Linked DNA regions of Homo sapiens: region 2 is linked to region 1. The links are contacts of gene promoters, found by promoter capture Hi-C in human tissues and cell types (Jung and others, 2019). All regions are on one chromosome and are shown on one strand. Each heading gives the region's core, a stretch centred on a gene start or on the middle of the fragment in contact. The rest is flanking DNA. Distances are from core to core; before and after follow the strand shown. Region 1 holds the start of SOAT1 (sterol O-acyltransferase 1). Region 2 has its middle 25 kb from the start of FAM20B.

Region 1 (5,087 bases), core at 1,587-4,086:
TCTATTTCCACACCAACCAGCCTAGTCCAGGTACCACCATCTACCCCCTGAACTTGCCCAATAACTTTGTATTGTTCTTCGGCTCCTTTTTGTTCCATTGCTGCTCCCTTCAAGTCATTCTCTATAAAATAGGTTGATTTAAAAAAAAAAATAAACCAATGGCCGGGCACGTGGCTCATGCCTGTAATCCCAGCAGTTTGGGAGGCTGAGGCGGGAGGATCACTTGAGCCCAGGAGTTCAGGACCAGCCTGGGCAACACAGCGAAACCCTGTCTCTACAAAAAATACAAAAATTAGTCTGGTGTGGTGACGCCCACCTGTAGTCCCAGGTACTAGGGAGGCTGAGGTGGGAAGATGACTTAGCGAGCCTGGGGAGGTAGAGGATGCAGTGAGCCCTGATTGCACCACTGCACTCCAGCCTGGGCGACAGAGTGAGACCCCATCTCAAAACAACAAAAACCCAAACCCTTCATTATCTTGCCTTTGCACTTAACAGATAAATCCAAACAACGTGATTAGGTTCCTGCTTAATGCTCCAAACTCAACTTCAAACCCCTATTTGACATGCTCAAGCCTCCTGGCCTGTTCCTCAAACAGCCACGCTTCAGCATCAGCCACAGTTCAGCATCGGGGCCTTGACACCCATTATCCTCTGTCTAGAATGTTCTTCCTCCCCATGGTTGGCTTGGCTGGCTCCTTCTTGTCATTTAGGTCTTAGCTCCTGAATTATCTCCTCAGAAAATCCTTCCCTGACCATTCTGTTTTGTTTTCTGCTCAGTACTTATCACTGCCAGTGATTATCTCATCTATTCGTTTTATTATTTATATTCTTCATTAGAAACATAAGCTTTTGTTGTTTGAGACAGAGTCCCACTGTGTTGACCAGGCTGCAGTGCAGTGGCATGATTTTTTGGCTCACTGCATCCTCCGTCCCTCACCCCCCATCCCCCACCACAAGCAATCCTCTTATCTCAGCCTCCCGAGTAGCTGGGACCATAGGGGCCTGCCACAATTCCCAGCAAATTTTGTTGTCATTGTTGTTGTTGTTGTTGTTGTTTTTAAATTCTGTAGAGAGGGAGTCTCACTATGTTGCTCAGGCTGGTCTTGGACTCCTGGCCTCAAAGTGATCCTCCTGCCTCAGCCTCCCAAAGTGCTGGGATTATAGGCTTGAGCCACCTGTTTGTTTCCTTTCATACCTAGTCCTGCAGAACATAAGCCTCTAAGTGCAGGGGCTTCTTCTGTTTATTCACCACTGTATTTCTAGCACCAAGAATACTATCAATATTTTTTGAATGAATGAATCAAACAGTGAAAAGGCCAGTCATCTTGGTGTATATAGAAGGTAGCCAACAGAGACCCAATAGAAATGAGTGCCTATGTTCCTACTGCTCTATAACTAGTGGGAGTGGGGAGGGGAAGCAGCTGGGGGTCTACCAGACCCTGTCACCAACTAGTCAGCACACGTGGCAATCACAGTTGTAGAAGAGGCCAAACGGAGCAGATCTGCCAATGACAGCCAGTACTAAACTCGACTGGATGCTGAGGGCCATTTCTGCTTTGAGTGAACAGTGCAGCCTGCTGGGTGGCCAAGGGAACGTGTACAAATCCACTTTGTTTAAAGGACCCAGAGAGTAGTCAGTTCTGCTAAACCTCATCTGTTTGTTCAGGGATTTTTGTCCTGGGGAGGAGTGGGGAAGAAGCGATTAGTCAGGCCAGGCTAGCTGGTATTAGTTTGCAGGCTGTGAGTGCGACTCTTCAGTCTCTGCTCCTCTCATCATTGCCTTTTCACCTACCTTTACCCTAAATTTACGTACACCTCTGCCTTCACAAATTCCAAGCGATTAACTGTTGTATTTAATCTCTGTCCCAAATCTCTCTGCATCATTCTTCTTTTGATTATGAAGTCACGAGGGCCCTTTGTTTATTTTATTTTTAAAACTTTTTTTGAGAAGGAGTTTAGCTCTTATTGCCCAGGCTGGAGTGCAATGGCACAATCTAGGCTCACTGCAACCTCTGGCTTCCGGGTTCAAGCAATCCTCCTGCCTCAGCCTCCCGAATAGCTGGGATTACAGGCGCGCGCCACCAAGCCCGGCTAATTTTTTGTATTTAGTAGAGACGGGGTTTCACCATGTTGGTCAGGCTGGTCTCGATCCTAACCTCAGGTGACCCAGCCACCTCGGTCTCCCAAAGTGTTGGGATTACAGGCGTGAGCCACCGCACCTGGCCTCAAGGGCCCTTAAATATTACTTAGTTGTTCCATTATTTGGTGTGTTTTATTATTTGGTGCAGGTTTTTTCCCCTTATCTAGTTTGAATGTTGCTGAAGGACGCTGGTTTTCAAACGGTAAGGAATCTCCTGATAAAGGCACGAATCTTGGTGTGCAGATAAGCCAGCGATTCTTGCTTCTGGCTAGTTCTACGTTGTTCCTGGATGGTCAGTTCAAACTGCAATGATCCACAGCTCCAGAAGCGGCTTCTTCCAGTCGGCCTAGGAGCCAAACGCCCCTGCAGCTCCATGCTACCACGCAGGGTGCCGTTTCGGGCTTGCAGGGAGTTGTCGCAGTCCCGTTTTGGCTGCACATTCTACTGCTGGGGTGGAAGTGTCAAGCAAGATGTTGTCGCCGGTATCATGATGTCCGGGTGAGAAGCTTCCTTGGCAGGTTGCCAGGGCCAGCCTGCGAGCACTGGCGCCGGGGACCCGCGCGCCCGGGAAGGGGCGGGGAGGTGGGCGGAGCCTGGCAACCTGGGGACCACCAATAGGATGCTCAGCCGGAGGTGGCCCTGCGCGTGACGCAGCGGTGCTCGGAGGCAGGGGGCGTAGGGGCCGGGCTGTCCGGCGCTTTAGCTTAGCAGGCGACGTTGCGGGCCCTGGGCGCCAGGAGAGCTTCCCGGAGTCGACCTTCCTGCTGGCTGCTCTGTGACCGCTTCCCGGCTCTGCCCTCTTGGCCGAAGTGCCCGCTGCCGGGCGCGGGCCTCAGGTAACGGTGGTGCTCCCGCGCCTCTCCTCGCTTCCCGCTTGGGTCCACCGGCCTCAGCCCGCGGGGAAGGGAGAAGCGGTGGCGGCAGCAGCTCCGGCCCGGCCTTGTCCTGGGCTGTGCTGCGGAGAAGGCGAGGCTCGGCGACTGCAGGGGAGTTGGGGAGGGGAGGGCGGGAAAGTTACCGTCAGGCGCCCGGGTCACGGGCAGCCTTTTAAACCCTGCACGCTGGTTTGGTGTTCCGCAAATCTCGTGGCATCTCTCAAGTCAGTAGTAAAGAAAGTTAGGAATTAGAAGACGTTTTATTCTTTAAAAAGCGAAACCAAAAATGCACTCAGGAAGTCAGCTTTTTAATGATTTAGAGAAAATGTGTGAAGGGAAGGATGGTATTAGCAAGACATGAAAATCTGTAGGGGCACCAGAACCTTTAATCAAGCTCATGTTTTATTGTAAAATATTAGGATGTAGGTAAGTTTCTGTTTTCCCTAAGTGTTAATGGTCATGTAATTTAAATAATATGTATATTGAAAGGTTATTTCTAAGTGAGAAACAACTATATAAACTTTATTCTCCGTATATATATTTAGGTTAAGTTCGTTGGTCACTTTTGTTTGTTTGAGACGGAGTCTCGCTGTGTCGCAAGGCTGGAGTGCAGTGGCGCAATCTCGGCTCACTGCAACCTCTGCCTCCCGGGTTCAAGCGATTCTTGTGCCTCAGCCTCCTGAGTAGCTGGGATTACAGGCGTGCGCCACCACGCCCAGGTAATTTTTGTAGTTTTAGTAGAGACGGGGTTTCACCATGTTGGACCAGGTTGGTCTCAAACTCCTGACCTCAAGTGATCCGCCCGCTTCGGCCTCCCAAAGTGCTGGGATTACAGGCGTGAGCCACCGCGCCTGGCCTGTTGGTCACTTTTTAATATTTAAGTGGCTGCCACCTGTTTAAACCACTTTTTTCTTTTTTTCAGCCTGCTTGATTTCCTCTTCCTTGAAGTAGAATTCAATTTGAAGCTTTTTTTTTTTCTTTTTAAAAGTTGGGCGGTGTCAGTGAATGACTTGTTAAGGAAGTCTGTGCGTTGTCTGGGTGTGAGAATGGGTTTTGGAAGGAGCTCTGTGGCACTGAATTATCGTTTAGAAATGCACGTGTTTTAGTGAATCACATGCTTAGAATGCATCTGAGGTTTCGCAGTCTTTTAGGATAAAGACCTACTGAGTGAGCACACTCTATCTCTGGTTCATTTGGCCCACTTTCCTTCTGGCTTTCCAGGTTCATGCCACACTGGCTTTATTTTTGTTACTGGAAAGCTTCATTTTCTTTCCTCTCTTGGCTTTTAGGAGTTTCCTCCACCTCTAATGCTGTATTCTCTCCCTCCCTCCAACTCTTATACCTGCCTCAGATATCAGCCCACATATCACTTCCTCTGGAAATCACCCCATCCCCATTAAGCCCTCCATGAACTCTTTATTCTCCTTAGCAGAAGTTGATCATTAATTGTAATGAATTAGTTGCTTTGTTTCCTCTGCTAGTGCATTTCATGAAGGCTGGTTTAGCCTGTTGTAATTTTCAGGGTCTGGTCCAGCACTTGGCCCAGAGAAAGAATGAATAAGTTGGTGGACAGAGGAAGGAACTTTTGAATGAGAAATACAGTGATCCCCACTTAACTGCTTTCTGTAGTTTCAGCTACCTGAGGTGCGAAACAGAGTACAATAAGACATTTCGAGAGATACCATGTTCAAGTGAATTTTAATACAGTATATTGTTAATCTCTTACTGTGCCTAACTTTTTGAAACTTTGCCTCCCAGGTTCAAGGGATATTCATGCCCCAGCCTCCCAAGTAGCTGGGATTACAGGCGTGTCCCAGTACGCCCGGCTAATTTTTTTTTTTTTTTTTGAGATGGAGTTTGGCGCTTGTTGCCCAGGCTGGAATGGCACGATCTCGGCTCCCCGCAACCTCCGCCTCCCGGGTTCAAGCGATTCTCCGCCTCAGCCTCCCAAGTAGCTGGGATTACGGGCATGTGCTACCACGCCCGGCTAATTTTTTTTTTTTTTTTTTTTTTTTTTTTTTTTTTTAGTAAAGACTGATCAGATCTTACTGGTCAGGCTGGTCTCGAACTTC
Region 2 (5,087 bases), core at 1,353-3,852, 290 kb before region 1:
AAAATAACTGATCACAGATCACCATAACAGATAAAACAATAATAAAAAAGTTAGAAATATTGCAAGAATTACCAAAATGTCACACAGAGACACAAAGTGAGCACATGGCACCAATAGATTTGCTCAATGCAGGTTTACCACAAACCCTCAATTTGAAACCAATGCGATATTTCTGCAAAGTGCCATAATACAAGGTATGCCTGTATTGAATAATGCAATGTTCAAATCTTCTAGCAAAGTGAACAGAACTACACAGAATCATGCTTTGAAATTGCCAATTTAGGAAATTATATTTGTTTTCAAAACTTGTTATTTCTTGGAACTCCACTCATAGGATTTGTTAAAAGTGTGTATAAAAAATACATAAACCTATTAATATTATTTTATTTGCAACAATAACTCATAGAACCAAGTAGAGCCACAAACATGCCCTCATAATATTGCAACAGCTATACACAAGCGAGATTATGTGATGACCACGTCTCTCCTATGCATTCCTGTGCCCATTCCCAACAATGTCCACCTTAACCTTCAATTTGGAGTTGTCAGCATTTTCCTGCTCCAAATTTTGACTTGAAGTCAATGGAGTCCTTCAAATCGGAAATTTCCCTATGTTGATTAAGCTTCAGTGCTCATAGAACTATCATACTTTTGCCTGTTTTATCAAATTCATTTTTCTCAGGTTTTGGGATTTGAAAAAAATATATGATTTCCCAAAAAAAAATGCCCAGAAGAAATCCCTGCATGAAAACACTAGGCCATGATCTTTGCCTGATTGCTAAAGGAAGAATCTTGTTAAACGAAATAATATCATAAATGAGAACGTGCATGGGGGTAGTGAAAGCAATGGGTTAGGCCCTGGTTGCTGCCTGTTAGAAGAGCCCTGGCCCTCACACACCCACAGCCCAGGCACGATGTGATGTAACCCTTTATTATTTCCCAGGACATCTCAGATCTGTTTTCCTCTGAAATATTAGGACTCACATCAGCCCTTTGGTCACAGTTAACAGTGCATCATTTACATCTATGTGTGACTTTGTCACTCTGTGGCACCCAAGTAGAAAGAAGAAGGTAAAGGCACATTAGAAGAATCCATTCTATTCCCTTTCTGCTGTCCTAGCTGTCAAATCAGCAGAAAGCTTAGACAGACCGTATGTTTACTGGAAGGGAGGGTAGAGCCCCAGAGAGGCTTCGGACTGAGACCTGTTCTGCCTTCTGTCTGGAAAGGGAAGAAATTCCTCCACCAGAAGCAACAAGAGTTGGGAAGCAGAGATCAAAGAAAGCAGGCAATTTCTGCAGGAAGGGGGAAGGGAAAAAGGGAGGGAAGAGTGATGGGTCCCAGGCGGGGGCGGATTTAGCATGAAACTAATGAAGCTTCAGCCTCAGCACCCCTCGCTTGCAAGGACCCTTCCAAGTTCCTGGGTGAGGCCCCTAGAAATTGGTTTAAAATTTGCAAAATTTGGAAAAGTGAGATATATTAACAACAATCAAGACTACAGCCATGTGTGGTAGCACTTGCCTGTAGTGCCACCTACTCAGAAGGCTAAGGCTGGGGGATCACCTGAGGCCACGAGTTCAAGATCAGCCTGGACAACCTAGTGAGCCTTCCGTCTCTAAAAAAATAAAAATAAAAAATTAAGACTACAGGCTGGGCATGGTGGCTCACACCTGTAAGTAATCCCAGCACTTTGGGAGGCCGAGGCGGGCGGATCACCTGAGGTCAGGAGTTCGAGACCAGCCTGGCCAACATGGTGAAACGCTGTCTCTACTAAAACTACAAAAATTAGCTGGGGGTGGTGGTGGGCACCTGTAATCCCAGCTACTTGGGAGGCTGAGGCAGGAGAATTGCTTGAACATGGAAGGCAGAGGTTGCAATGAGCTGAGATCAAGCCACTGTACTCAAGCCTGGATGACAGAGCAAGACTCGTCTCAAAAAAAAAAAAAAAAAAATTAAGAATTAAGACTACAGTCTTTTCCCTCCCTGACATCCCTCAGTCACACTTCCTTTCTTGTTGGGTGGTATTTGGAGTGGCTGTGGGCATTTTTAATCTCTATCTAAGGAGAAATTGAGTTGAGAGTATGTTCACTTATGTGATTTGCAGTCACTTTCAAGTATAGTTTCTAGCAGCCCCTCCCTCAGTCAAGGAATGGCTTCTAGGGGCATCTCCATTGTCTACTGTATTGACTTAATACCAAAGGTCCTATCCAAATATAAATGTGACTTTCAATACCTGGCACCGGAAGTAGGTGGGAAGTGGAACAGAAAGAATGTTGAAAACATATGGAGTCAGAAGCTAGTTTGTAGAAAATTCTTTCAGCTATGGTAAATGTAAAAGGCAGGGTTCGCTTTTCACTGATGTCTAGTCAACATTTTCTTCTTCCAGGATATTCCCCCTTGCTGTGACTATTTTTTTTTTTCTTTTTTGAGATGGAGTCTCCCTCTGCTGCCAGGCTGGAGTGCAGTGATGCAATCTCGGCTCACTGCAACCTCTGCCTCTTGAGTTCAAGCAGTTATACTGCCTCAGCCTCCTGAGTAGCTAGGACTACAAGCGCCCGCCACCATGCCCAGCTAATTTTTGTATTTTTAGTAGAGACGGAGTTTCACCATGTTGGCCAGGATGGTCTTGATCTCTTGACCTCGTGATCTGCCCTCCTTGGCCTCCCAAAATGCTGGGATTACAGGCGTGAGCCACCGTGCCCGGCCTTTTTTTCTTTCTTTCTTTCTTCCTTTTTTTTTTTTTCTGAGATGGAGTTTCGCTGTTGTTGCCCAGGCTGGAGTGCAACGGTGCAATCTCAGCTCAATGCAACCTCTGCCTCCTGGGTTCAAGCGATTCTCCTGCCTCAGCCTCCTGAGTAGCTGGGATTACAGGCATGCACTACCACGCCTGGATAATTTTTTGTATTTTTAGTAGAGACGGGGTTTTTCCATGTTGGTCAGGCTGGTCTTGAACTCCTGACCTCAGGTGATCCACCCGCCTCGGCCTCCCAAAGTGCTGGGATTACAGGTGTGAGCCACCATGCCTGACCTGTCGTGACTATTCTTAATACTGCTGCGAATACAATTATAAACGCACTGTACATTTATTTATTTGTTGGGATTGAAAAAATAGAATGTATGAAATTCTTGAGTTAACCATAAACCTATAGCAATATTACAGAAATTTTTGATCAACTATGCTGGAAAAAACACTAAATTATCTTTCTATTATTTCTATAGAAAATGGCACTACAAAATTGTTGGCATTTGAAGCGGTCATCAAAGAGTAGGCAGACAGAAGCACATGGAAAAATATTATAGAAGTGTATCAGTTAATAAAAACGTGAATTTTCTGGATTTTGTGATGTTTGTGGTATTTGTCAGCCTTTAAAAATTTATAACTTGATGTCATCTATTTTCTCATTCTAAATATTTACTTTTATATTCAACTTTGTATTTTTTTATTTTGTGTTATTTTTCTTGAAGAGATCTCCAAATTATATAAGCTTCAGACTTCACAAAACTTGATCTGTGCCTGGACTGTGGTGTGGGGCCCAGGGATTTATACCAACAGCCATTCTTGGCCCTCAGCAGCCTCTAGGGTCCCTAGCCCATTCTCCAAAGTCCGCATCCCAGCCCTCATCTCAGGCCCTGAGAGCCATCAACAACATAAGGCTGAGGAACTCTTTGCTTCTCTGGGGAGCAGGAGGGTGGGTGAGCCAGTGAGACATGCATTTGCTGGATTAGACCTCTGGGGACTTTTCCCCCAGCAAAGTCCTGCCTGGCAGGGTGGTTGGCCATTGTGTCAGTACCCACCACCCTCCTGTGAAGGGTGAGCCCCTGGCCCTTGTGGCCTGGGCTGAGGTCTCAACCACCAGCAGCAGTACTTGAGGCTGAGTCTGCTGTAGACTTTAAAAACAGGACTGGTGGCCAGACACAGTGGCTTATGCCTATAATCTCAGCATTTTGGGAGGCCAAGGCAGGAGAATTGCTTGAGCCCAGGAGTTCAAGACCAGCCTGGGCAACATAGGGAAACCTCGCCTCTAGAAAAACTTTTTAAAAGCCAGGCATGGGGCCAGGCGCGGTGGCTCACTCCTGTGATCCCAGCACTTTGGGAGGCCGAGGTGGGAGGATCACTTGAGGTCAGGAGTTTGTGACCAGTCTGGCCACCATGGTGAAGCCCCATATCTACTAAAAATACAAAAATTAGCAGGACGTGGTGGCACATGCCTGTAATCCCAGATACCCGAGAGGCTGAGGCAAGAGAATCGCTTGAACCTGGGAGGCGGAGTTTGCAGTGAGCCAAGAAGGTGCCACTGCACTTCAGCCTGGGCGACAGAGCAAGACCCTATCTCAAAAAATAATTTTTAAAAACCCAGGCATGGTGGCGCATGCCTACAGTCCCAGCTACTCGGGAGGCTGAGGCCTGCTTGAGCCTGGGAAGCCGAGGCTGCAGTGAGCTGTGATCATCCCACTGCACTCCAGCCTGGGTGACAGAGCAATACCCCATCTCCAAAACAAAAACAAAAACAAAAACAAAAAACAGGACCAGCAGGAATAGTCTGCTGTGGATTGGGACCCCTGAATGTTCCAGAGGGATTTAAGTGTGCGGAATTCAGACGTCTTCCCTGTTGTGGCTGGCCTTCCCGCCTCCCCAGCCGTCTGCCCGAATGAGTGCTTACTAATGAGCCAGAGAGCTCTGAGCCGGCCTGTGTAGGGCATCCATGCAGGGCTCCAGGGGCCCCTCTCAGTGAAACAACATGACTGTGAAAACAATCTGCTGCTCTTCTTCTTCACCCTGACCTTGGGTCATTCTGGCGTAAAAGATTACTTTGCTCCCAGCCTCGGGGAAGTTTTTGTACAATTAGCTACAACTCGGCAGAAAGACCCTGCAGAGAGAGCCCTGGGGTCACCAACTCAAGCATGAAAGGACACTGACCCCGTGTGGTCATGTTTGGAGGTGCAGCACGGGGAGAGAGGAAAGGCCCCGGCACGGTCCTTTGGCCAAACGACCCCTGCAGGCCCTCCCTGACCGACCTTGCTCTGTCCCTGCTCACTTCACAAGACCCTGGGGAGAGGACCTGGCCCTATCAGGGCCTGCTGACTCGTT

Evidence for each region. The method cuts DNA at HindIII sites, captures the fragments that hold promoters and counts their contacts. A contact is called where the count stands out against the background at its distance.
Region 2: a fragment that was not itself captured here is called in contact with the fragment with the promoter of SOAT1 in region 1 in 1 of the 25 tissues and cell types used here (liver).

What each region holds. Positions count from the first base shown.
Region 1 is chr1:179,290,961-179,296,047 of GRCh38, forward strand. It overlaps SOAT1 (sterol O-acyltransferase 1), which reads left to right and starts at 2,837. Exons shown (of 16, transcript NM_003101.6): 1 at 2,837-2,976. RefSeq lists a silencer at 2,632-2,821 and an enhancer at 3,034-3,541. The HindIII fragment of the contact is 6,238 bases long and covers 1,747-5,087 here.
Region 2 is chr1:178,997,948-179,003,034 of GRCh38, forward strand. No RefSeq gene overlaps it. Among named protein-coding and RNA genes, the nearest start is that of FAM20B, 25 kb to the right of the region's middle. RefSeq lists a silencer at 4,989-5,087. The HindIII fragment of the contact is 5,572 bases long and covers 1-5,087 here.